Regions from separate parts of the Homo sapiens genome. Here all the other regions are linked to region 4. The links are contacts of gene promoters, found by promoter capture Hi-C in blood cells and fetal thymus (Javierre and others, 2016). All regions are on one chromosome and are shown on one strand. Each heading gives the region's core, a stretch centred on a gene start or on the middle of the fragment in contact. The rest is flanking DNA. Distances are from core to core; before and after follow the strand shown. Region 1 overlaps TMEM267 (transmembrane protein 267). Region 2 overlaps LOC100506639 (a long non-coding RNA gene). Region 3 overlaps CCL28 (C-C motif chemokine ligand 28). Region 4 holds the start of RIMOC1 (RAB7A interacting MON1-CCZ1 complex subunit 1). Region 5 overlaps ZNF131 (zinc finger protein 131). Region 6 overlaps ANXA2R-OT1 (ANXA2R overlapping transcript 1). Region 7 has its middle 4.9 kb from the start of HMGCS1.

The links. The method cuts DNA at HindIII sites, captures the fragments that hold promoters and counts their contacts. A CHiCAGO score of 5 or more calls a contact.
Region 1: a contact is called between a fragment that was not itself captured here and the fragment with the promoter of RIMOC1 in region 4, in 1 of 17 cell types (neutrophils). The highest score is 8.5, in neutrophils.
Region 2: a fragment that was not itself captured here is called in contact with the fragment with the promoter of RIMOC1 in region 4 in 1 of 17 cell types (naive CD8 T cells); the score reaches 5.4 in naive CD8 T cells.
Region 3: a fragment that was not itself captured here is called in contact with the fragment with the promoter of RIMOC1 in region 4 in 1 of 17 cell types (neutrophils); the score reaches 8.3 in neutrophils.
Region 5: a fragment that was not itself captured here is called in contact with the fragment with the promoter of RIMOC1 in region 4 in 2 of 17 cell types (neutrophils and naive CD8 T cells); the score reaches 5.8 in neutrophils.
Region 6: a contact is called between a fragment that was not itself captured here and the fragment with the promoter of RIMOC1 in region 4, in 1 of 17 cell types (neutrophils). The highest score is 13.7, in neutrophils.
Region 7: a fragment that was not itself captured here is called in contact with the fragment with the promoter of RIMOC1 in region 4 in 1 of 17 cell types (neutrophils); the score reaches 9.5 in neutrophils.

Annotation. Positions count from the first base shown.
Region 1 is chr5:43,473,166-43,476,113 of GRCh38, reverse strand. The region is part of intron 1 of TMEM267 (transmembrane protein 267); the gene reads left to right. Among named protein-coding and RNA genes, the nearest start is that of TMEM267, 9.2 kb to the left of the region's middle. The HindIII fragment of the contact is 7,857 bases long and covers 1-2,948 here.
Region 2 is chr5:43,072,942-43,075,879 of GRCh38, reverse strand. All of the region lies in intron 2 of LOC100506639 (a long non-coding RNA gene), which reads right to left. Among named protein-coding and RNA genes, the nearest start is that of ANXA2R-OT1, 7.0 kb to the right of the region's middle. RefSeq lists enhancers at 1,066-1,565, 1,699-1,993, 1,566-2,067. The HindIII fragment of the contact is 2,189 bases long and covers 236-2,424 here.
Region 3 is chr5:43,388,505-43,391,685 of GRCh38, reverse strand. The region is part of intron 1 of CCL28 (C-C motif chemokine ligand 28); the gene reads left to right. Among named protein-coding and RNA genes, the nearest start is that of CCL28, 22 kb to the left of the region's middle. The HindIII fragment of the contact is 5,574 bases long and covers 1-3,181 here.
Region 4 is chr5:41,902,786-41,905,625 of GRCh38, reverse strand. RIMOC1 (RAB7A interacting MON1-CCZ1 complex subunit 1) reads right to left here and starts at 1,282. Exons shown (of 6, transcript NM_175921.6): 1 at 1,159-1,282. The coding sequence starts at 1,258. RefSeq lists enhancers at 1,180-1,299, 1,052-1,598, 1,710-1,849. The HindIII fragment of the contact is 10,560 bases long and covers 1-2,840 here.
Region 5 is chr5:43,135,304-43,138,240 of GRCh38, reverse strand. The region is part of intron 3 of ZNF131 (zinc finger protein 131); the gene reads right to left. Among named protein-coding and RNA genes, the nearest start is that of ZNF131, 16 kb to the right of the region's middle. The HindIII fragment of the contact is 853 bases long and covers 1,111-1,963 here.
Region 6 is chr5:43,046,103-43,048,891 of GRCh38, reverse strand. All of the region lies in intron 2 of ANXA2R-OT1 (ANXA2R overlapping transcript 1), which reads left to right. Among named protein-coding and RNA genes, the nearest start is that of ANXA2R-AS1, 5.4 kb to the right of the region's middle. The HindIII fragment of the contact is 4,869 bases long and covers 1-2,789 here.
Region 7 is chr5:43,316,812-43,319,902 of GRCh38, reverse strand. No RefSeq gene overlaps it. Among named protein-coding and RNA genes, the nearest start is that of HMGCS1, 4.9 kb to the right of the region's middle. The HindIII fragment of the contact is 3,484 bases long and covers 1-3,091 here.

The DNA of each region.
Region 1 (2,948 bases), core at 281-2,780, 1.6 Mb before region 4:
GTGAGCTAACAGATCGGCAGCACATGCAAACTTCACAGTGTGCTCTCCATTGACCTTCACGGTGTAAAAAATATGACTTGCTTCATTTGTGAGTTCCATATAATGTCTCCTATAGCCAACAGTACCCAGAACTATATAAGGAAGGGAATTCTGGGAAATGTTTTTAAGTCCGAGTTAGCTGAGTTGATACAGTACAAAGCCATTAGAGCTCTAGTTAACTGATCTTTTTCATCTTTTAATAGAGTTTTGTTGTTTCATTCTTGCTATTTTAATTCTTGGCATTTTGAGTTGCTGTTGTGAATGTTCATTTTCCCATCTTATGATTATTGCTATTATATTGAAAAATTGTTTTAGTTCATACCTTGAACTAACCACATTTTTCAACTTAAATTCCAACAGTTTTCTGTTGGTTCTCTTGGGTAGGCAGTCATTTCACCTGCAAACTAATGTAATTATCTTTTCCTTCCTGATAATGTAATGATACATTTTCTTCCCTCCCTCTCCTGCCTTTATTCTTTTTCCTCATTACATTGATTAAAACCGCCAAAACGATGTTATAATAGCTATACTGTTTCTGACTTTTTTTTAAATTATACTTTAAGTTCTGGGGTACATGTGCAGAATGTGCAGGTTTGTTGCATAGGTATACACGTGCCATGGTGGTTTGCTGCACCCATCAACCTGTCATCTACATTAGGTATTTCTCCTAATGCTATCCCTCCCCTAGCCCCCCACCCACCTATAGGCCCTGGTATTCCCCTCCCTGTGTACCCTCTCTGTGTCCATGTGTTCTCATTGTTCAACTTCCACTTATGAGTGAGAACATGCGGTGTTTGGTTTTCTGTTCTGTTAGTTTGCTGAGAATGATGGTTTCCAGCTTCATCCATGTCCCTGCAAAGGACATGAGTTCATTCTTTTTTATGGTTGCATAGTATTCTGTGGTGTATATGTGCCACATTTTCTTTATCCAGTCTATCACTGATGGGCATTTCGTTCCAAGCCTTTGCTATTGTAAACAGTGCCACAATAAACATACGTGTGCATGAGTCTTTATAGTAGAATGATTTATAACCCTTTGGGTATATACCCAGGAATGGGATTGCTGGATCAAATGGTATTTCTAGTTCTAGATCCTTGAGGAATCGCCACACTGTCTTCCACATTGGTTGAACTAATTTACACTCCCACCAACAGTGTAAAAGCGTTCCTATTTCTCCACATCCTCTCCAGCATCTGTTGTTTCCTGACTTTTTAATGATCGCCATTCTAACTGGCGTGAGATGTGGTTTTGATTTGCATATCTCTAATGACCAGTGATGATGAGCCTTTTTTCATTTTTTTTTTTTTTTTTTTTGAGACAGAGTTTTGCTCTTGTTGCCCGGGCTGGAGTGCAATGGCGTGATCTTGGCTCACCACAACCTCTGCCTGCTGGATTCAAGCAATTCTCCTGCCTCATCCTCCCGAGTAGCCGGGATTACAAGCATGCACCACCACGCTTGGCTAATTTTGTATTTTTAGTAGAGATGGGATTTCTCCGTGTTGGTCAGGCTGGTCTCGAACTCCCGACCTCAGGTGATCCACCTGCCTCAGCCTCCCAAAGTGCTGGGATTACAGGCGTGAGCACCACGCCTGGCAAATGTCTTCTTTTGAGAAGTGTCTGTTCATATCCTTCACCCACTTTTTGATGGGGTTGTTTGCTTTTTTCTTGTAAATTGGTTTCTCTGTAGATTCTGGATATTAGCCCTTTTTCAGTTGGATAGATTGCAAAAAATTTTCTCCCAGTCTGTAGGTGGCCTGTTCGCTCTGATGATCGTTTCTTTTGCTGTGTAGAAGCTCTTTCGTTTAATTAGATCTCATTTGTCTATTTTGGCTTTTGTTGCCATTGCTTTTGGTAACAAAAGACGAAGTCTTTGCCCATGCCTGTGTCCTAAATTGCCTAGGTTTTCTTCTTGGGTTTTTATGGTTTTAGGTCTTACGTTTAAGTCTTTAATCCATCTTGAGTTAATTTTTGTATAAGGTGTAAGGAAGGGATCCAGTTTCAGCTTTCTGCATATGGCTAGCCAGTTTTCCCAACACCATTTATTAACTAGGAATTCCTTTCCCCATTGCTTTTTTTTGTCAGATTTGTCAAAGATCAGATGGTTGTAGATGTGTGGTGTTATTTCTCAGGCCTCTGTTCTGTTCCATTGATCTATATATCTGTTTTGGTACCAGTACCATGCTGTTTTTGTTACTGTAGCCTTGTAGTATAGATTGAAGTCAGGTCACGTGATGCCTCCACCTTTGTTCCTTTTGCTTAGGATTGTCTTGGCTATTTATGCATGCTGTTTTTTGGTTCCATGTGAAATTTAAAGTTGTTTTTTCCAATTTTGTGAAGGAAGTCAATGGTAGCTTGATGAGGATAGCATTGAATCTGTAAATTACTTTGGGCAGTATGGCCATTTTCATGATATTCATTCTTCCTATCCATGAGCATGGAATGTTTTTCCATTTGTTTGTGTCCTCTCTTATTTCCTTGATCAGTGAGTGGTTTGTAGCTCTCCTTGAAGAGGTCCTTCATATCCCTTGTAAGTTGTATTCCTAGGTATTTTATTCTCCTTGTAGCAATTGTGAATGGGAGTTCACTCATGATTTGGCTCTCTGTTTGTCTGTTATTGGTGTATAGGAATGCTTGTGATTTTTGCGCATTGATTTTGTATCCTGAGACTTTGCTGAAGTTGCTTATCAGCTTAAGGAGATTTTGGGCTGAGACGATGGGGTTTTCTAATTATACAATCATGTCATCTGCAAACAGAGACAATTTGACTTCCTCTTTCCCTAATTGAATACCCTTTATTTCTTTCTCTTGCCTGATTGCCCTGGCCAGAACTATGTTGAATGTACAATTAAGTTATTATTCACTGTAGTTACCCTGTTGTGCTATCAAGTACTAGGTCTTACTCATTCTT
Region 2 (2,938 bases), core at 81-2,580, 1.2 Mb before region 4:
TTGTATCTTTGCTTTCACTTTCCTCAGCAGAAGTTTCTTGGGTATGTCTATCCAGAAAGACACTCTCTGTGTTCCCCACATTTTCTGGGAAAGAAGAGACTCTCACAAGGCCTCTTAGTGGTTCAAATTAGCACCATCATAACATTCATGGATTCGGGATACACTGTGTAACTGGAGCTCTGCTTTCACAAGGCCAGGTTCATACTTGAAAGATTCTCCCCGGGGACCCAAAGCTTGAAGGGATGAGTAACTCCCCCCTTCTCAGGCCCAGTCCCAAGGCACAACGCCACTTGCACCAGCAGCGTGTGTCAGCAAGATAGCAGAAGCAGGAAGAGAGCCAGCCGGAAGACACATTCCCTGGCCAGAAGACACGTACCCCTGAAGATCGAGAAAGAGGCCGTCGCGTACTACATAGCAGTCATGTTAGACTGGGACACTTCCTGTTTACAGAGGACTATAAACCCCCTGTACCGTCCTCACTTGGGGCTGATGCCATTTTAGGCCTCAGCCCACCTGCACTCACGTGCTCATTAAAACAGCATGTTGCTGCTCCACACCACTTCGTGTTGTCTTTTGGCGTGCTCTCAGGGTTTGAACCAACACAAGAACCTTACATCTAGTGCCGAAACCGGGGAGGGGCTCTGGTCCACATCCCCCATGGACCTACCCCTCCACCCTGGAGAACAGGCCACAGCAGCAGGACAAAGGAAGCTCCTCAGCCTCCAGTTGCCTCTCTGTGCATGCACATTGGTCACTGGCCTTGCCTATTGGTAAGTTTCCCTAGGAGCCCAGTTAACAAGGGAAAAGCCACATGGCCTCTCTTGGTGTCTACGGTCCAAAAATCCAATGTCGGTCCAGCAAGGCTCCGGCGTGTGCCAGGTACTCGCTGATCATCCCATCACCTGGTCTTAGGGAGACGCCTCTAATCCATTTGATCCCGTTCCAGGAATGAAAAAGGCAGCGGTGATGATGATTGCTCCTTTTGTCTCCCTCTGGCCGTCCAGGACGGTCTCCTTTTTCCCTGTTCTCCTGAGCCTACCCTCTGTTATGGGAAACTCCCGGTCCTCCCTTCCAAAAAACAGCCCTCTAGGCTGCCCCATAAAAAACCTGCAAACCTTAGGCCTCAGGCAAAATATCCACCCTAAGCGCCTTGTCTTTTTTTGCAATTCAGTCTGGCCACAATACGAATTGGATAATGGGTCCAAATGGCCCGCAAATGGAACATTCGACTTTACAGTTTTAACTGAGTTAAGCAATTATTGACAACGACTAGAGAAATGGGGAGAAATTCCTTATGTCCAGGCCTTTTTGCACTCAGATCACAACCCGACCTCTGCAATTCTTGCTCACCTGTTCAAATCCTTCTCCTCCATTCTTGCCACCCTGATTGTCTTTCTCCTCCCAACCCTACCTCTTTTTCCTCGTTAGATCCAGCAGACTGCTGTCCACCCCTCCCAACCCCTACCTCTTCCTCTCAATCGTCTTCTTTAGCCCAAGCCTCCTCGTTGTCTTCTCAACCGCCATCTTCCCAGCCACCATCTTCCCAGTCAGCAGTATCTGCTTCTTTTCCTACACCGCCCCCTCCTCAGGACAATTCTAGTATTGCCTGTACCCATTCTCCTCCCCTACTGCCTTCTCCTGAGGCTTGTAAACCCATCCCACCACCTTACGCCCCTATCTATCCTCCACTACCTGTTAACTCAATCCCCCTTTCCCCTTCAAACACTCAGCAGGAACCACTTCCAGGTTCTTCCTTCTCTCCCATCCACACTTGTTCAGGTGCCATGTTTGGCCATGCCCCACCCTTACTTTAGTGCCTGTGCTAGAGTGCCCTCTTCAGGAAGTAGCAGGAACTGAAGGTATTGTTAGAGTTCATGTTCCCTTCTCCCTCACTGATTTCTCTCAAATTAACAAAAGACTGGGTTCATTTCCAGAAGACCTGACCTCTTATATTAGGGAGTTTCAGTACCTTACCCAGTCTTATGAACTAATCTGGCATATCCTCTACGTTATCCTCTCTTCCACCCTCACCCCAGAAGACCGGGACCATATCTGGACCCTAGCTCAGGGGCATGCTGATCAATTTATCACCAAGCTCCTGCCCAGCCTACTGGCGCACAGGCAGTCCCCAACCAGGACCCCCACTGGGATTATCAAGACAGGGCCTCTGGACGCTACCATTGAGACCACAATTGTGTCTCCTTGCAGGACTCAAAAAGGGTGCCCATAAAGCGATAAACTATGAAAAACTTTCAGAAATCCCCCAAGATCCTGACGAAAAAACAGCCCTTTTTCTCTCTTGTTTAACTGAAGTCATGAGAAAATATACCAACCTAGACCCAACCAGCCCAGAAGGAACCACTATTTTAAACCTTTAGTTCATGTCCCAATCCACCCCGATATTCGGCGTAAGCTACAGAAGCTTGATGATGGCTCTCAAAACCCACAACGAGACCTTCTTAATTTAGCCTTCAAAGTCTTTAACAATCGTGATGAGGAAAATAAAAGGCAAAAACATGCAGAGTTTCAAATGCTTGACTCCGCCATCCGGGGCCCTGCAGGCCCACAGGGCCGCAGCTCCACACAGAAGCCTCCTAGCAATCCACCTCCACCTGGCGCATGTTTCAAGTATGGCAATGAAGGCCACTGGTCTAGACAATGCCCAAACCCAGGTAAGCCCATCAGGCCATGCCCCCTCTGCAGAGGACCCCACTGGAAGTTGGACTGTGAGCGGCCCCCACAAGGACCACTCCCATCCCTTCCTGAGCTGGCCAAAACCTCCTACTCGGATCTCACTGGCCTTGCCACTGAAGACTGATGGGGCCCTGGAATGGACGCCCCGGCAACTACCATTGCTTCATCTAAGACAAGGGTAACCCTGATGGTGGCAGGTAGGCCAGTATTTTTTCTTATTTAATACCGGGCAACCTACTCTGCT
Region 3 (3,181 bases), core at 205-2,704, 1.5 Mb before region 4:
GTAGCCTTGCTTGTAACAGTAAAGTACTGGAAACAGTTACTTAAAAATAAGACTGAAGGCAAATATGGAAAAGACTTAACATTAATAACATTTGGGTGATGAGTATATAGGTGTTTTTATTATTCTTGGTAGTTCCTCTGTGTTGAAATGTTTCACAAGGAAAGGGGAATAGTAGTTAAGTCATCATTTATTTATTCACATCTACATTTCCACAGAAGTATTAGTTTAGGTGAATTGTCATGTCTTGATTTTTAAAGTTTCCATAGAAAGAGGTTACTGAACTCGTGTTATTGGTATAAAATATAAAGCTGTCTGGCCTCAAAATACTTTTCATGTCATCCTCCTACAACTTACATTCATAAATTCTATATTCCAACCAAATTTGCATGAATCTGCCTTTTTCCACATTTGTATCTTTACACCCACTGTCTCCTCTATATTTACTGCCCTATTCATATTCTATCCATTTTTCACATTTTCAGCTCAAATGCCACCACCTTGATAAAGATGGACCCAAGTCTCTATAATTTATCGCTTCTGCCTTTCAGTGTTCCAGATACCATTCTGTTTATCACATAGCCCTTGCCACATTTTCTCTTATGTTAGAAATGTTTTCCCCCTACTTTCTTTCACACACACTCTACAGAAGCACACCATTATTTTTAATGGAGCAAAAGTTGATACAATCTCAAAAATGCCAGAGCAAACTGATTCAAATATGATTTAAATACTGATTTCAATTCACTGCATAGACACATCAGATGCTACCCATGGAACTCCTATACTCTGGGCTTCACTGGTTGGTGAGTAGAAATTGTGATGTTCTGGGTCCCCACTTTCTTGCCTGGCAGTAATTACAAAGTTGCTGCAGGATTTCTCAATCCAAATATTCTTGACAATTCTCAAATAGTGGGTCCTGGAGAAGGGTACTTTCCCTCTAAGAGTCTGGGGGAAGTTGACCTGATAGTGTAGGAGGGATGATCCCTTGCATAATCAGAACCCTTACTCCCAGTTTTGTGGTTCCTCTGTTGGGCAGCTGCTCTGGATCCATTTGAAACCCACTGGTGGTTGCCCACTTCTCCAGAGAGCTGACCTCAGTGCCTGCTTCTCAGGCCAGCTGGGAAACGCATCTGCTGATCTCACAAATCACTTTTCAGAGAAATTCCCAGATGGATCTGTTGGGCTTTGCCCTTCCCAAAGCAAAGGGAGCACCTCTAGGAGGGGTTAGGGAGGCAGTTGGGGGTGGATCAGGCAAAGTCTTGCATTATACCTCAGATCCTTGCTCATTCATACCTCTGGACTCCGCTGCTTTATTAAGCCCACTCTGCAAGACTTCTCTTATTTTCAGTAATAGTCACATATTTCTCTTCAGGGGAACCCCTTCTCCATCATACAGGTTTGTGTTTGTGTGAACTCCAATTCTGGAACATAAGCTGGTTATTTTCCATTATATACCTGACCAAGGTGGTCTTTGCAAACAGGTTTTGGCCTCCCCGACCTCTTATCAGCTTGCCTCCCCAACAACCTCTCCAACAACCATTGTTCAGTATCATCTGAACAAAACTATGTAAATGCTGAAGAAATGTCACATAATCATCTTTTTCAGCCTAATTGACACACCAAAATCTCTCCTATATAGAAATTCTGGAGTCATAATTGAAATAAAGGGAAGTAGCTGATGGCTTTTTAAAAATGGAACTATTCTGACAGGAGGCTGCAGGAGGGAACCTCTAGGGGGCGATGTTATCTAACAGAATTTTACAGTTGCCCTATTCGGAACTACCCAGTTTACATTCTCCATTGCCTAACTTCCCATGTTCTCTCCAAAGTTGTTTCCTGGCCTCTTATATTTTCTGCTTCCTCTGGAGGGCACTAGTTGCACCTACTAACATGTAATAAATGCTGGCCTGCTTCTTGCCTTTTTATAGTTAATGTGACTTAGATCAAGTGATCTCCAGCTGAGCCCATCCTACGTTTATATTAATATTTGAGAAATGCAATCCAGTTTACTAAGTATATATAGGCCCCCGGTACTCTTCTGGCTTAAGACTGTTTGAATTGATATCAGCACTCAGATAACTCAAATTCCTAAACACACAGATTTTCTTGTGATTCTTAATTGCTACCATGCTTCTGAAAGTATGTTTCCTATTAGAGTTGCTTGGGCCACAGCTAATCTTTGAGGCTAGTAACGCTTCATCTTTCTACCTTCAGGGTCTAGCGTAGTGATTCACGTATAGTGAGATGGGTGGATGAATGGGTGGATACGTGATAAATCCAATACCTTGTTCAGGATATTAAGAGTTTGACTTAGGCAGCACAGCATAGCTAAAGAAAGAAACAGTTTTAGGAAATAAATGCATTAATAAATGTAGGAACAACCAGTATTCACAAACCATAAAATTCTCCATTTTAAAGTATAAAATTCAGTGGTCTTCAATATATTCACAGAATTGTGTGATCACCAATATCTAATTCCAGCACATTTTCATCACTCCAAAAAGAGATCTTGTACCTGTTCACAGTCACTCCGTGTCCCCTCCTTTCACTCGTCCCTCTCCATCCCTTAGCCCCCCAGCCCCTGGCAACCACTAATCTACTTTCTGTCTTTATGGATTTGCCCATTCTGGATCTTTCATATAAAGGGAATCATACAGTATGGCCTTTCGAATCTGGCTTCTTTCATGTATAATCCCATAACCCTTTGAACATAACTCTTTAACACTTATTTTGCTGTGTTGGGATTATTATGGCCTGCCTCCCACTGGACTATTAAGCATCACAAGGACAGATTATGCCTTATTTCAACTTTGAATGCAGAGCTCAGGGCCTGTCACAGAATGGGCAATCAATAAATGTTTGCTGAACGAATGATGCTTTTCCAGTTCCAAAATGCATGAAACACCGTGTTGACCTCACTCCTTTCATCTTTGATCAGTCTGCAGTACCACCAGAATCCTTGTCTGTAACTCTTTTCATCTCTTTCACTTGTTTTGTGTCTTTGCCTAAATTTACATTTTCTCTTTCACAAATATAGCTTAAATTCCAGAAAGTGGGAACATGTCCTGCCCCAAGTCTGTATTCACAAAGCCATGTTTGCCCCTTGTTTGTGTGGATTAACATTGTTTCTCTGAAATCTTTAAAATGAGAACCATGCCAGTGTTCTATAAACCGTAAAATT
Region 4 (2,840 bases), core at 33-2,532:
ACCAAAATATAAGTCGGCTTCAGGGTGGTCTGTAGGTCTTTAAAGAACACACTCCTGGCCTGGCACAGTGGCTCACGCCTGTAATCCCAGCACTTTGGGAAGCCAAAGCGGGTGGAATGCTTGAGCCCAGGAGTTCAGGACCAACCTGGATGACATGGTGAACCCCGTTTCTACAAAATATGCCAAAGTTAGCCGGGCGAGATGGTGTGCGCCTGTTGTCCCACTACTAGAGGGGCTCCAGCCTGAGCAACAGAATGATACTCTGCCTCTAAAAACAAAACAAAACAAAACACTCCTGATAAATGATAATCTGGCAAAAAATATTCACTGAAACTAAGGCATTTCATCATAGACCCTATTTAATAACAAATTCACCAACTATTCAATCGCTTAAGAAAATGTTCCACCACTGTTTTCCTATGAGTCCGATGATATGAGTCAGTCCACAGAATTTTAAAAACTATCTGTAGTAATTGCTCAAACTCAAAAAGGAATAATGTAGAACCTAAAGGCAGCTGAGACGTAATGAAAAGAATTGGACTTAAATTCAGAAGGTTGAGGCAATTCCCTAGCCCAGTTTTTCCTAACAGCTTAGACCTTTCCAAAACAAGTATGCCAATACTTAACAGAGCCCTTGTGAGAACTGGCATGATGTATGGGGCAGAATAGTCTACACACCAATGTAAAGCTCTTCTATAGAATGTTGTTTTGAATCCAAAACGTAAAACGCAAATTACAACGCAGCAATGAAAAAGTGGAACTGTTATACATGTCTTTTTATCTTTACAGGATGCAAACCACCATAACTAATTTGAGTGTTATCATTCATCTTAGCCATTTATTTAAACTTCTGTATTTTATTTAGATTCTGCCCTTCTTCCAATCGCTACCGAGACAGTTTACACCAGCACGGATCTAGACAGATTTTCCATGGGTTCTGAATAATGCGGTTTTCGAAGACAACGCCTTGGCATTGTGAGTTCTGGGAAGTGGGCAATCGATGGCGCAGAGGGGCTCAGAAGCGACAGACCTCGGGTAACCACCTGCGGCCTGGGACCCAAAGGAACACAGGCCTCAGCCTCTAGCCCTCACAGCCATCGAGCGCCAGTACCTTAGCGCCGTCTGCCCCGCCCGCCTCCCTCTCCTCCGCTCCCTCACCATCTTCACCGGCAGCTTCGCTAAGTTGCTGTATGTGGGCCTGAGCCAGATCCCCGAGCTCTTCCACTCGTCTCACCACACTAGAGACTGCGGCCGCCATGGCCACAATCGGCGGGTGCGCCCCGGTCACGTGACCGTGTTGGCCCGCAATCACCTGATCCCCCGGCACGGGCGGGGCCTAGGGCGGACCTCTCCTGGTTGGTGGGAGGAGACATCAGCTCCGGAAGAGGGCTGGCCCAGGCCGGCAAAGGTCTTTCCGGGTCATTTTTCCCTCCTGGACTTCCCTTCCCTCCCATAATCCTGAGCAGCAAGGAGACTAGGGGCGGGTGTGACGTTGAGACACGCCTCTCTCTAGCCCCCTCCTGTAAGCCAATAGGGAGCCAGCCGTGCCCCTCGGCTGACCCAATCGGAAGTCAGCTCTCTCCGCCTGCCTCTTGGAAGACAGCTTGGTGACGTCTGGCTGGCAGGATGCGGATTGTCGTCCGCACTCCCACTTCCCTGTCCGGCGCGGGAAGCACAGTCTGGAGGGCGGACGCGAGGGTCTGGAGAGAGGACTGTCAGTTTTGGCCTTGTAGTAAGGAGGTTGCTAAAATAAAGTGATTATAATCTCCTGGTCCTAAATGGAAACCCGACCGGCCCCCTGTGTAACACATCCAAGTCTCCAAGAGTTTGTTGTACATCTGGATGGGGAGCTCCAAACACTAGTGGAGTTGCCAGTCTACATGGTTGAATATTGCTTTTGTAAATCTGATTTTTAGCAGTCGAATTTATCTCTGACCTCCCTTGGAGTTCACATTTAAAGTACTTTAGACATCTTGCGTCCAGTGGTAGTAAATTCTGCGGCCACAAAACTATTTTCATTTTTCTTTCATCTCAAGACCTTCCCTTAAGGCGCTAATTGTGCATGAGGTTCATCCTCTCAATCGGGAGTTTCAAAGCACTCAGTCAGCAAGTCTAACTTCACTTTGCATTCTGTGAATGCTTTCTTGCCTCTGGTCAAACAAATCGTTAACTCTGTGTATTCATTTCTCAGTTTGACACACTATATCTTGAATAATCTCCATCCTATTGTTTCTCATGGAAGGTAGTTTTTTATATGTAATAGAAAAATACTAAAAATAGAGAAAAAGTGTATTGTGATTTATAAGTGATTGACCACAATGACTCTCTAACTGACCTTTGTAATACCAGTTTCTTCTGACAATTCACCCTAAATATAGAGGACAGGAATCATGTATTTTGTGTCCTTGGTGCCTCATACAGTGCCTGGCACATATGCACTCTTGTCAACAAGCAAGATGGCAAGGGGATATGATGTGGTCTGTGGGAGTAGACAATTATTCAATAGTGTGGGAATTGTAGGTGAGGAAAAAAAGAATCTAAGTATAAACAAGAAGTTGAGAGAAGGCTTTCTCAACAAGGGATGGAGAAGGTGGTAGTTGAAGAGGGGCAAGTGCTGGAAGGTAGGGTGGAGAATGATCGTATCTGTACACAAAGGGGGAAAAATAGGGAAATAGGGATAAATTCAAAATGAAAGTAGGGAGCCAGCAATGGATAGAGAAAAGAGCAGAAGGTTACACCTGATGCCTTCTGAATCTTCTACAAGATGTAGAACTAAATGAAGCCTTCAGAAGATTTTACTAAACTTTTCAAAAAATAATTTTCAAAAAATAATTAACCTT
Region 5 (2,937 bases), core at 288-2,787, 1.2 Mb before region 4:
TTGTAATAAGAACATGAGATCTACCCACTTAACACATTTTTAAGTGTACACTATTGTTGACTCTAGGTACAATGTTGTACAGACCTCCAGTTTATTCATCTTGCGCAATTGAAACTTTATGCCCACTGATTAGTAACTGCCCATTTCCTCCTCCCTCCCAGCCCCTAGCAACCCGTATTCCACTCTTTCAATCTATTTGAGATAGCTCATATGAGTGGAAGTGACTATTTTAGATTCCTCATATAAATAGAAATATGCAGTTTATGTCTGTGACTGGCTTACTTCACTTAGCATAATGTCCTCAAGGTTCATCCATGTGGTTGCATATGCAGAATATCCTTGTTCTTAAGAGCTGAATAGTATTCCATTGGATACATATACTACATTTTCTTTATCCATTAATCTGTTGACGAATATTTATTTCCTCTCGTGGCTACTGTAAATAGTGCTGCAATGAACATAGGAGTGCTAAAACTTCAAGATCCTGATTTCAGTTCTTTTGGATAAATGTTCAGCAAGTGGGATTGCTGAATTGTATGGTATTTTAATTTTTTAAGGAACATTCATACTGTTTTCCATAATGGCTGCACCTATTCCTGCCAACATTGTGCAAGGATTCCAATTTATTTATATCCTCACCAATACTAGTTGTCTTTTTTTTTTTGATAGCCATCCTGAAAGGTGTGAAGTGACTGATACCTCATAGTGGTTTTGATTTGCATTTCCTTGATGCCTAGTGACACTGAACTTTTTTTTCATGTATCTGTTGGCCATCTGTTTGGAGAAATGTCTATTCAAGTTCTTAGCACATTTAAAAAAACATTTTTAATTTAATTTTTTTCTGCATCATTTAGACTGTTTTTAATTGGGCAGATATTTTTTACTATCAGTTGTGGGAGTTTCTCATATATTTTTGGGATTCATTCCTTATCATTTATTTGGTTCTGCAAATACTTTCTCCCATTCCTTAGATTTCCTTTTCACTCAGTTGTTTCCTTTGCTGTACAGAAGCTTTTTAGTTTGATGTAGTCCCACCTGTCTTATTTTCTGTTGTTGGCTGTGCTTTTGACGTCACATCCACGAAATTACTAAGAATGATGTGGTGAAGCTTCCCCTCATGTTTTCTTCCAGGAGATTTACATTTTTTGGTCTTATGTCTAAGTCTCCAATTCATTTTGAGTTTTTTTCTTTTTTATGGTAGAAGATAGGGGTCCAATTTCATCTTTTTTCATGTGAATACCTAGTTCTTCCAACATCATTTGTTGCAGAAAACATTCCTTCCTTATTGTGCATTCTTGGCATCCCTGAAGATCAGTTGACCATATTATTTGCATGTTTTTATTTGTGGGCTCTCTATTCTGCTCCTTTGGTCTGTATGTCTCTTTAAGCTAGTCCCATACTGTTTTGGTTATTGTAGCTCTGTAAAATATTTTGATATCAAGAAGTATCATGTCAGCTGGGTGCAGTGGCTCATGCCTGTAATCCCAGCACCTTGGGAGGCCAAGGCTGGTGGATCACCTGAGGTCAGGAGTTCGAGATCAGCCTGGTCGATATGGTGAAACTCCGTCTCTACTAAAAAAAAAAAAAAAAGAAAAAGAAAAAAGAAAAAAAGAAAAAAATTAGATGGGGGTGGTGGCACGCACCTGTAATCCCAGCTACTTGGGAGGCTAAGGCTGCAGTGGGCCAAGATTACACCACTGCACTTCAGCCTGGGCAACACAGTAAGACTACCTCAAAAAAAAAAAAAAAAAAAAAAAAAAAAAAGTATGATGCCTCTAGCTTTGTTCTTTTTCAAGATTGATTTGGCTAGTCCATGATTTTCTGTGGTTCCATATGAATTTTAGAACTGCTTTTCCTGTTTCCATAAAACAAAAAAAATTCCATCAGGATTTTGAGAGGGACTGTATTGAATCTGTAGCCCACTTTCTGTAATACAGGCTGAATATCCCTCATATGAAAAGCTTGGGATCACAACTGTTTTGGATTTTGAAATATTTGCATTATACTTGACACAGGTTGAGCATCCCAAATCTGAAAATCCGAAATCCAAAATGCTCCAACAAGCATTTCCGTTGAGTCATGTTGATGCTCAGAAAGTTTCAAATTTTATAGCAGTTCATTTTTTCTTCTTCGAGACCAAGTCTCACTCTGTTGCCCGAGCTGGAGTACAGAGGCTCGGCTCACCGCAACCACCACCTCCCGGGTTCAAGCGATTCTCCTTCCTCAGCCTCCCAAGTAGCTGGGACTACAGGCACGCACCACCATACCCACCTAATTTTTATATTTTTAGTAGAGACAGGGTTTCACTACGTTGGCCAGCTGGTCTTGAACTCCTGAAATTGTGATATGCCCGCCTCGGCCTCCCAAAGTGCTGGGACTATAGGCGTGAGCCACTGCACCTGGCAAGCAGTTCAGATTTTCAAATTTGAGATGCTCAATCTGTATGGACAATTTAACAATACTGAGTGTTCCAAATCCATGAAGATCTATTGAGTGTCTTTAGTTTCTTTTTTCTTTTTTGAGACGGAGTCTCGCTCTGTCGCCCAGGCTCGAGTGCAGTGGTGCAATCCATGCTCACTGCAACCTCAGCCTCCCGAATAGCTGGGACTACAGGAATGGGCCACCATAACCAGCTAATTTTTGTATTTTTTTCCGGAAGAGACAGGGTTTCACCATGTTGTTCAGGCTGGTCTTGAACTCCTGACCTCAAGCAATCCACCCGCCTCCGCCTCCCAAAGTGCTGGGATTACAGGCGTGAGCCACTGTGCCCAGCCCAATTTCTTTAATGTTTTATGGTTCTCAGTATTGCATGTCTCTCACCTAAGGAGGTGAAAGGTTAAGCCTATTCCCAGTTACTTTATTCTTTATGGTGTCAATATAAATGGGATTGTTCTCCTAATTTCCTTTCCAGATAGTTCATTGTTAGTGTATAAAAAT
Region 6 (2,789 bases), core at 201-2,700, 1.1 Mb before region 4:
CTTTTAAATATCAAGCAAGTATGAATATTTATATGCCTATTTTGTATATCACTCTTGTCAATCCCCCAATTTTTTGGTTAGCCAAGAGCTCTCATGATCACAGGTGATAAAAATTATAATGTATTAGCATATTGAATCCAGCAATATATGTTTTAAAAAATACATCATGATCCAGTGGGATTTATTCCATGAACTCAATATTGGTTTAGCACTTGAAAATCAGTTAATATTAGTCAACACATTAACATTAAAAAGGAAGTAAACCATGTGATAATATCAGTAGATGCAGAAAATCTTTTAAAAATTTAACCCCTTGTCATTCTTAAAACAAAACATATCTTAACAAATTAGAAAAAGTGGATTCCCTTATTTATTTAAAACTATATCTATAAGAGACATACATAGTTAATATTCCACCTTGAAAGAAATAAAAATGTTTAACCCCAAAATATATTTATTTGAAATATTTTCAGATGGCTGCCAGAGAACCAGCAAAATAAGTAGTCCTGCAATGCTTTCGTTTGTGGGAAAAATTTGCATCTGTAGAAAATCTGCATTGATTCATACAGGCCTTCTCTTGTCTGGATCTAGGAAGGATTAACAGAGTCTGAACCCTTACAAGTTTTCTCTCTCCTATAACCTGTTTTGGCATGATGCACTTTTTTGTGTAACCTCAAGATGGTATATAACCTCCTGCACCTCACTGAGGGGCTGAGCAATCATACATTTTCTATGTGTTTTCTCCTATTAATCTGCCTCTGTGAGTCCATTTTAGAGCAAACTTTCAGAGTGCGCAGAGAAAGATTTCCCTTGGCCCCTGAAAATTTGGTGCTGTGAGCAGGAACCCAAAGTTTGGCTCTTTTGGAAGCCCACAGTTGAGGGAAACCAGGAGCTGATCAGCCAGCATAAGGATAAAGAATTTTTACCAGCCAGATTCCAGGCCCCACTCTGTGGAATCTGGTGAAGTAGACAGTAAAAATCACTCTCTATTTTTCCTGTCCAAAATATTGACTGATGGGAGAAAAGGATTTGTGTGACTAGTGCTGGTGTATCGACTCTGGTGTACTTTTTGGTACTTTGTAGTATGAATCATGTTGTTTCATCCCCTTTCCTCCCAGAATAGTCTTTTCTTTGTCTTTATCTTTCTGTATTCTGTCATAAAGAGGAGTAAGGAGTATAGCAGTACAGTACAGATGAAGGTTTTCTCTCATCTCGTTTTGTTTTTTTTTTAATTTGTTTTGTTTTTTTTTAGACAGAGTCTTCTTGCGCTATCGCCCAGGGTGGGGTGCAGTGGCATGATCTGGGCTCGCTGCAACCTCTGCCTCCTGGGTTGAAACAATTCTCGTGCCTCAACCTCTGTGTAGCTGGGATTATAGGCATGCACCACCACACCCAGCTAATTTTTATATTTTTAGTAGAGACTGTTGGCCAGGCCTCAAACTCCTGGCTTCAGGTGATCTGCCCACTTCGGCCTCCCAACGTGCTGGGATTACAGGCGTGAGCCACCAGTTCCCAGCCCTATTTTGTTTTTGTTTTAGAGACAGGGTCTTACTCTTTCACCCAGGCTGAAATGCAGTGGCATGATTATAGTTCTCTGTAACTTTAAACTTCTGGATTCAAGCCATCCTCCTGCCTTGGCTTCCCTAGTAACCAGGACTATAGGCTCATGCCACCACACCCAGCTAATTTTTAAAAAATACTTTTGTAGAGATGGGACCCCTTATGTGCCCAGCCTGCTGATGAACTCCTGGGCTCCCGAAGCACTAGGATTACAGGTGTGAGCTACCATGCTAGGCCTGAAATAATCAATATGCCAGAGGTATATTGGTATATTGGGGTGGTGTATTCTGGTGTCCAACAGTCAAATTTTGAGAGAGTGTGTCCAGAATAATCAACTCAGAACTTAGGTTGCTATCTTGAACTGGAGTGTTAGGGAGAAGGGACACAGTAAAATCACACACACACACACACACACACACACACACACACACACTACATTAGAAGATGAGCCTTAAATTTGCACCAAGAGTTGATTTCTTAACATTGAATGCTAAAATTACATTTATCTATTCAGCCACAGACAGAGCTATATGCACTCCAACTTCCCTAAGTGAGGCTGTGCATCTACAAAATGGAGAGAACTAAGAAGAAAGCCCAGCACAAAGCATGTGCTCACCACATTTTTCGGTTGAGAATGAAACAAGATAAAGCACAAAATATAGTTGGTATGGTGTCTGTCACAAATAATGATTTTCATGCCACAAACCACACAATATGTGAGAAGAACTAAAAGGGGAGGCAAGAAGCTGAAAGTGTTTATGAGAAATTGCACCTTACAGATACTGGAGGAGTGGGGAAGATGATTTTCCCACTTACCCAACCATTTCAGTGTATTGAGCTATGAAAAAAACAAATACAATCAAAAAATAGGTTTCAAAAAATTACAACTTGGCTTGGCATGGTGGCTCATGCCTGTAATCCTGGCACTTTGGGAGGCCGAGGTGGGTGGATCACATGAGATCAGGAGTTCAAGGCTAGCCTGGCCAACATGGTGAAACCCCGTTTCTTCTAAAAATACAAAAATTACCCGGGTGTTGTGGCAGGAGCCAGTGGTCCCAGCTACTCTGGAGGCTGAGGCACAAGAATGGCTTGAACCTCGGAAGCAGAGGTTACAGTGAACTGAGATCGTGCCACTGCATTCCAGCCTGGGTGACAGAGCAAGATTCTGTCTCAAAAATAAATAAATAAGTGAACAAAATAAAAATAATTTAAAAAATAAAGAATTACAA
Region 7 (3,091 bases), core at 283-2,782, 1.4 Mb before region 4:
TAACCGTCTCCTGTGGACTTCTGAGGAAGTTGATCAAGTCGAGAAGCTGAAGGAAAGAAAGGCTCATAACTGCCTGTTTTAGCCTTACCCTCCCTAGAAAAGCCATTCCACCTTTTTGTTAATGTGTACAGTGGGGTAGCTTTAGGAGTGCTGACTCAAGAACACAGATGCCACCGGCAGCCCGTAGCCTTCCTATCAAAGGTCTTAGACCCAGTCACTCGTGGATGGCCTCAATGCATCCAGTCCATCGTGGCTATGGCAATACTAGTCGGGGAAAGCAGAAAGTTAACCTTTGGAGGAAAATTGACAGTAAGCACGCCTCACCGAGTTAGAACTACCAGAGAGCAGGGAGATGGCCTACTGAATAAAGAATCTTAAAGCATGAGGCCATTCTGTTAGAAAAGGATGATTTAACATTGACTACTGATAATTCACTCAACCCAGCAGGTTTCTTAACAAGGAATCCACATCTAAGGGGGGAACACACATGTTTAGATTTAATTGATTACCATACAAAGGTTCAACCAGACCTAGAAGAAACCCCCTTCTGGACTGGATGGCACTTATTCATAGATGGTTCTTCCGGGGTGATTGAGGGAAAAAGACACAGTAGGTATTCAGTGATTGATGGAGAAACTCTCATAGAAATAGAATCAGGAAAATTGCCCAACAGTTCGTCTGCTCAAACGTGTGAGCTGCTTGCACTCAGCCAAGCCTTAAAGTACTTACAGAACCAGGAAGGAACCATCTATACAGATTCCAGGTATGCCTTTGGAGTGACCCATATGTTTTGGAAAATTTGGACTGAACTAGGTCTCATCAATAGTAAAGGTCAAGACCTTGTTCACAAGGAGCTGATCACCCAAGTATTGAATAATTTTCGGTTGCCAGAAGAAATAGCTATTGTCCATGTTCCCAGACACCAGAAAATTCTTTCTTTTGAAAGTCGAGGAAATAACCTAGCAGATCAGGTAGACAAGCAGGCTGCTGTGTCTTTTGAATGTGTATTTTTCACTTAACTCCCTACCTCCCTCCTCCTACCATAATCCCCATTTTCTCTTCCACCAAAAAAGAGAAAGTAATAAAAATAGGTGCTAAAGAGAATTCAGAAGGAAAGTGGATACTGCCAGACCAGAGAGAAACGTTATCTAAACCCCTTATGAGGGAAGTCTTATCCCAACTACATCAGGGGACCCACTGGGGGCCCCAGGCCACATGTGATGCCATTCTCAGAGTTTATGGTTGTATAGGAATTTATACCCTGGCCAAACAGGTTACAGATAGTTGCTTAGTATGTAAGAAAACTAATAGACATACTACAAAAATATTACCACTCGGGGGAAGGAATCCAGGCTTAAAGCCATTCGAAAGTATCCAAGTTGATTACAAAGAAATGCCTCCAACAGGTCGTCTGAAATATTTACTAGTGATAGTAGACCACCTCACTCACCAGGTCGAAGTTATTCCCTTTTCAAATGCAACAGCCAATAATGCAGTTAAGGCCCTAATTGAAAATATAGTACCCAGGTTTGGACTAATAGAAAATATTGACTCAGACAATGGAACTCATTTCACCACACACATTATTAAAAAGCTATCCCAAACATTAGATATTAGATGGGAATACCATACTCCCTGACACCCATCCTCATTAGGGAGAGTAGAAAGAATGAATCAGACTCTAAAGAACCACTTAACCAAATTAGTCTTAGAGACTCGATTGCCATGGACCAAGTGTCTTCCTATTGCCCTGCTGAGAATTTGAACTGCACCACGGAAAGACATTGGTCTTTCTCCTTATGAGATGTTCTATGGATTACCTTATTTGCACTCTACTGCTGATATTCCTACCTTTGAAACAAAAGATCAATTCCTTAAAAATTATATGCTTGGTCTAGCTTCTACTTTCTCTTCTCTTAAAACTAAAGGTCTATTAGCACAGGTGCCGCCCTTGGAGTTCCCGGTGCATCAACATCAGCCTGGGGATCACGTCCTCATCAAGAGCTGGAAAGAGGAGATGCTTGAGCCAGTCTGGGAAGGTCCTTACTTAGTGCTCCTAACTACTGAAACTGCAGTCCGCACAGCAGAGAGAGGATGGACTTACCACACCCGGGTCAAGAAAGTGCCACCCCCTCCAGAGTAGTGGCCATAGTCCCAGGGGAAAACCCTACCAAACTAAAGCTAAGAAGAATTTAACTCTCTTTCATCTATTCTATTAACTTTCTTCTTTCCTCGTTCTATCGCTGATCATCTAGTTATTAACATAACCAAGTCAATTTCGCCTCAAACTATTGCATTTGATGCTTGCCTTGTTATACTGTGTGGGGATTTGTAAAGTCAAAGGCAGCTCTCTACTTCAGAAAAGTACCTCTGTCCCTCCTGGCTCTCCTCATACTGGGCATTAGTGAATTGGGACCATTTAATTCGGGGAGATTTTGATAAAGACCCCAGTGGCAACCAGGAGTCTTGCCCCCACCGACACAGAGCTTTTATGCTGTAGTTGGTCCAACGTTCTGTGGACCACCAAAGAGCAAGGATGGACTGCCCTGACCAGTTTTTGTAATTTCCTAAAACCACACATTCATTTTACTAAACGGACAGCCCCCAATAACTGTCAGCTAAACCAGTGCAATCCTATATAGGTTATTATCTTGAGCCCCCAAAGTTCTTCCCCTTTTCTAAGCCAGTTCCCTTCTTTAAGCCGATTTTATGGCATGTGGGCTAGATGTCAGGGACAGACCCTATTGGATCCTTGAAATGCATTTCTTTGATCCCCTGCCACCTGCACCTGCCTTTAAGCCTTTTTCCAAAACCTCTCACAACGGAACCATTGTTCCTCCTCCATCTACCGACAAGGCCAAGATAGCGATGGTAGAAGTTAAAGACTTAAAACAAACTTTGGCAACTGAGACAGGATACCAAGATATAAATGCCTGGGTGGAATGTATCAAATATTCCATCCACACATTAAACAAAAGCAATTGTTATGCTTGTGCACATAGCAGGCCAGAGGCCCAGATTGTCCCCTTTCCACTAAGGTGGTCCTCCAGTCGACTCGGCATGGGCTGCATGGTAGCTGTTTTCCAGGATT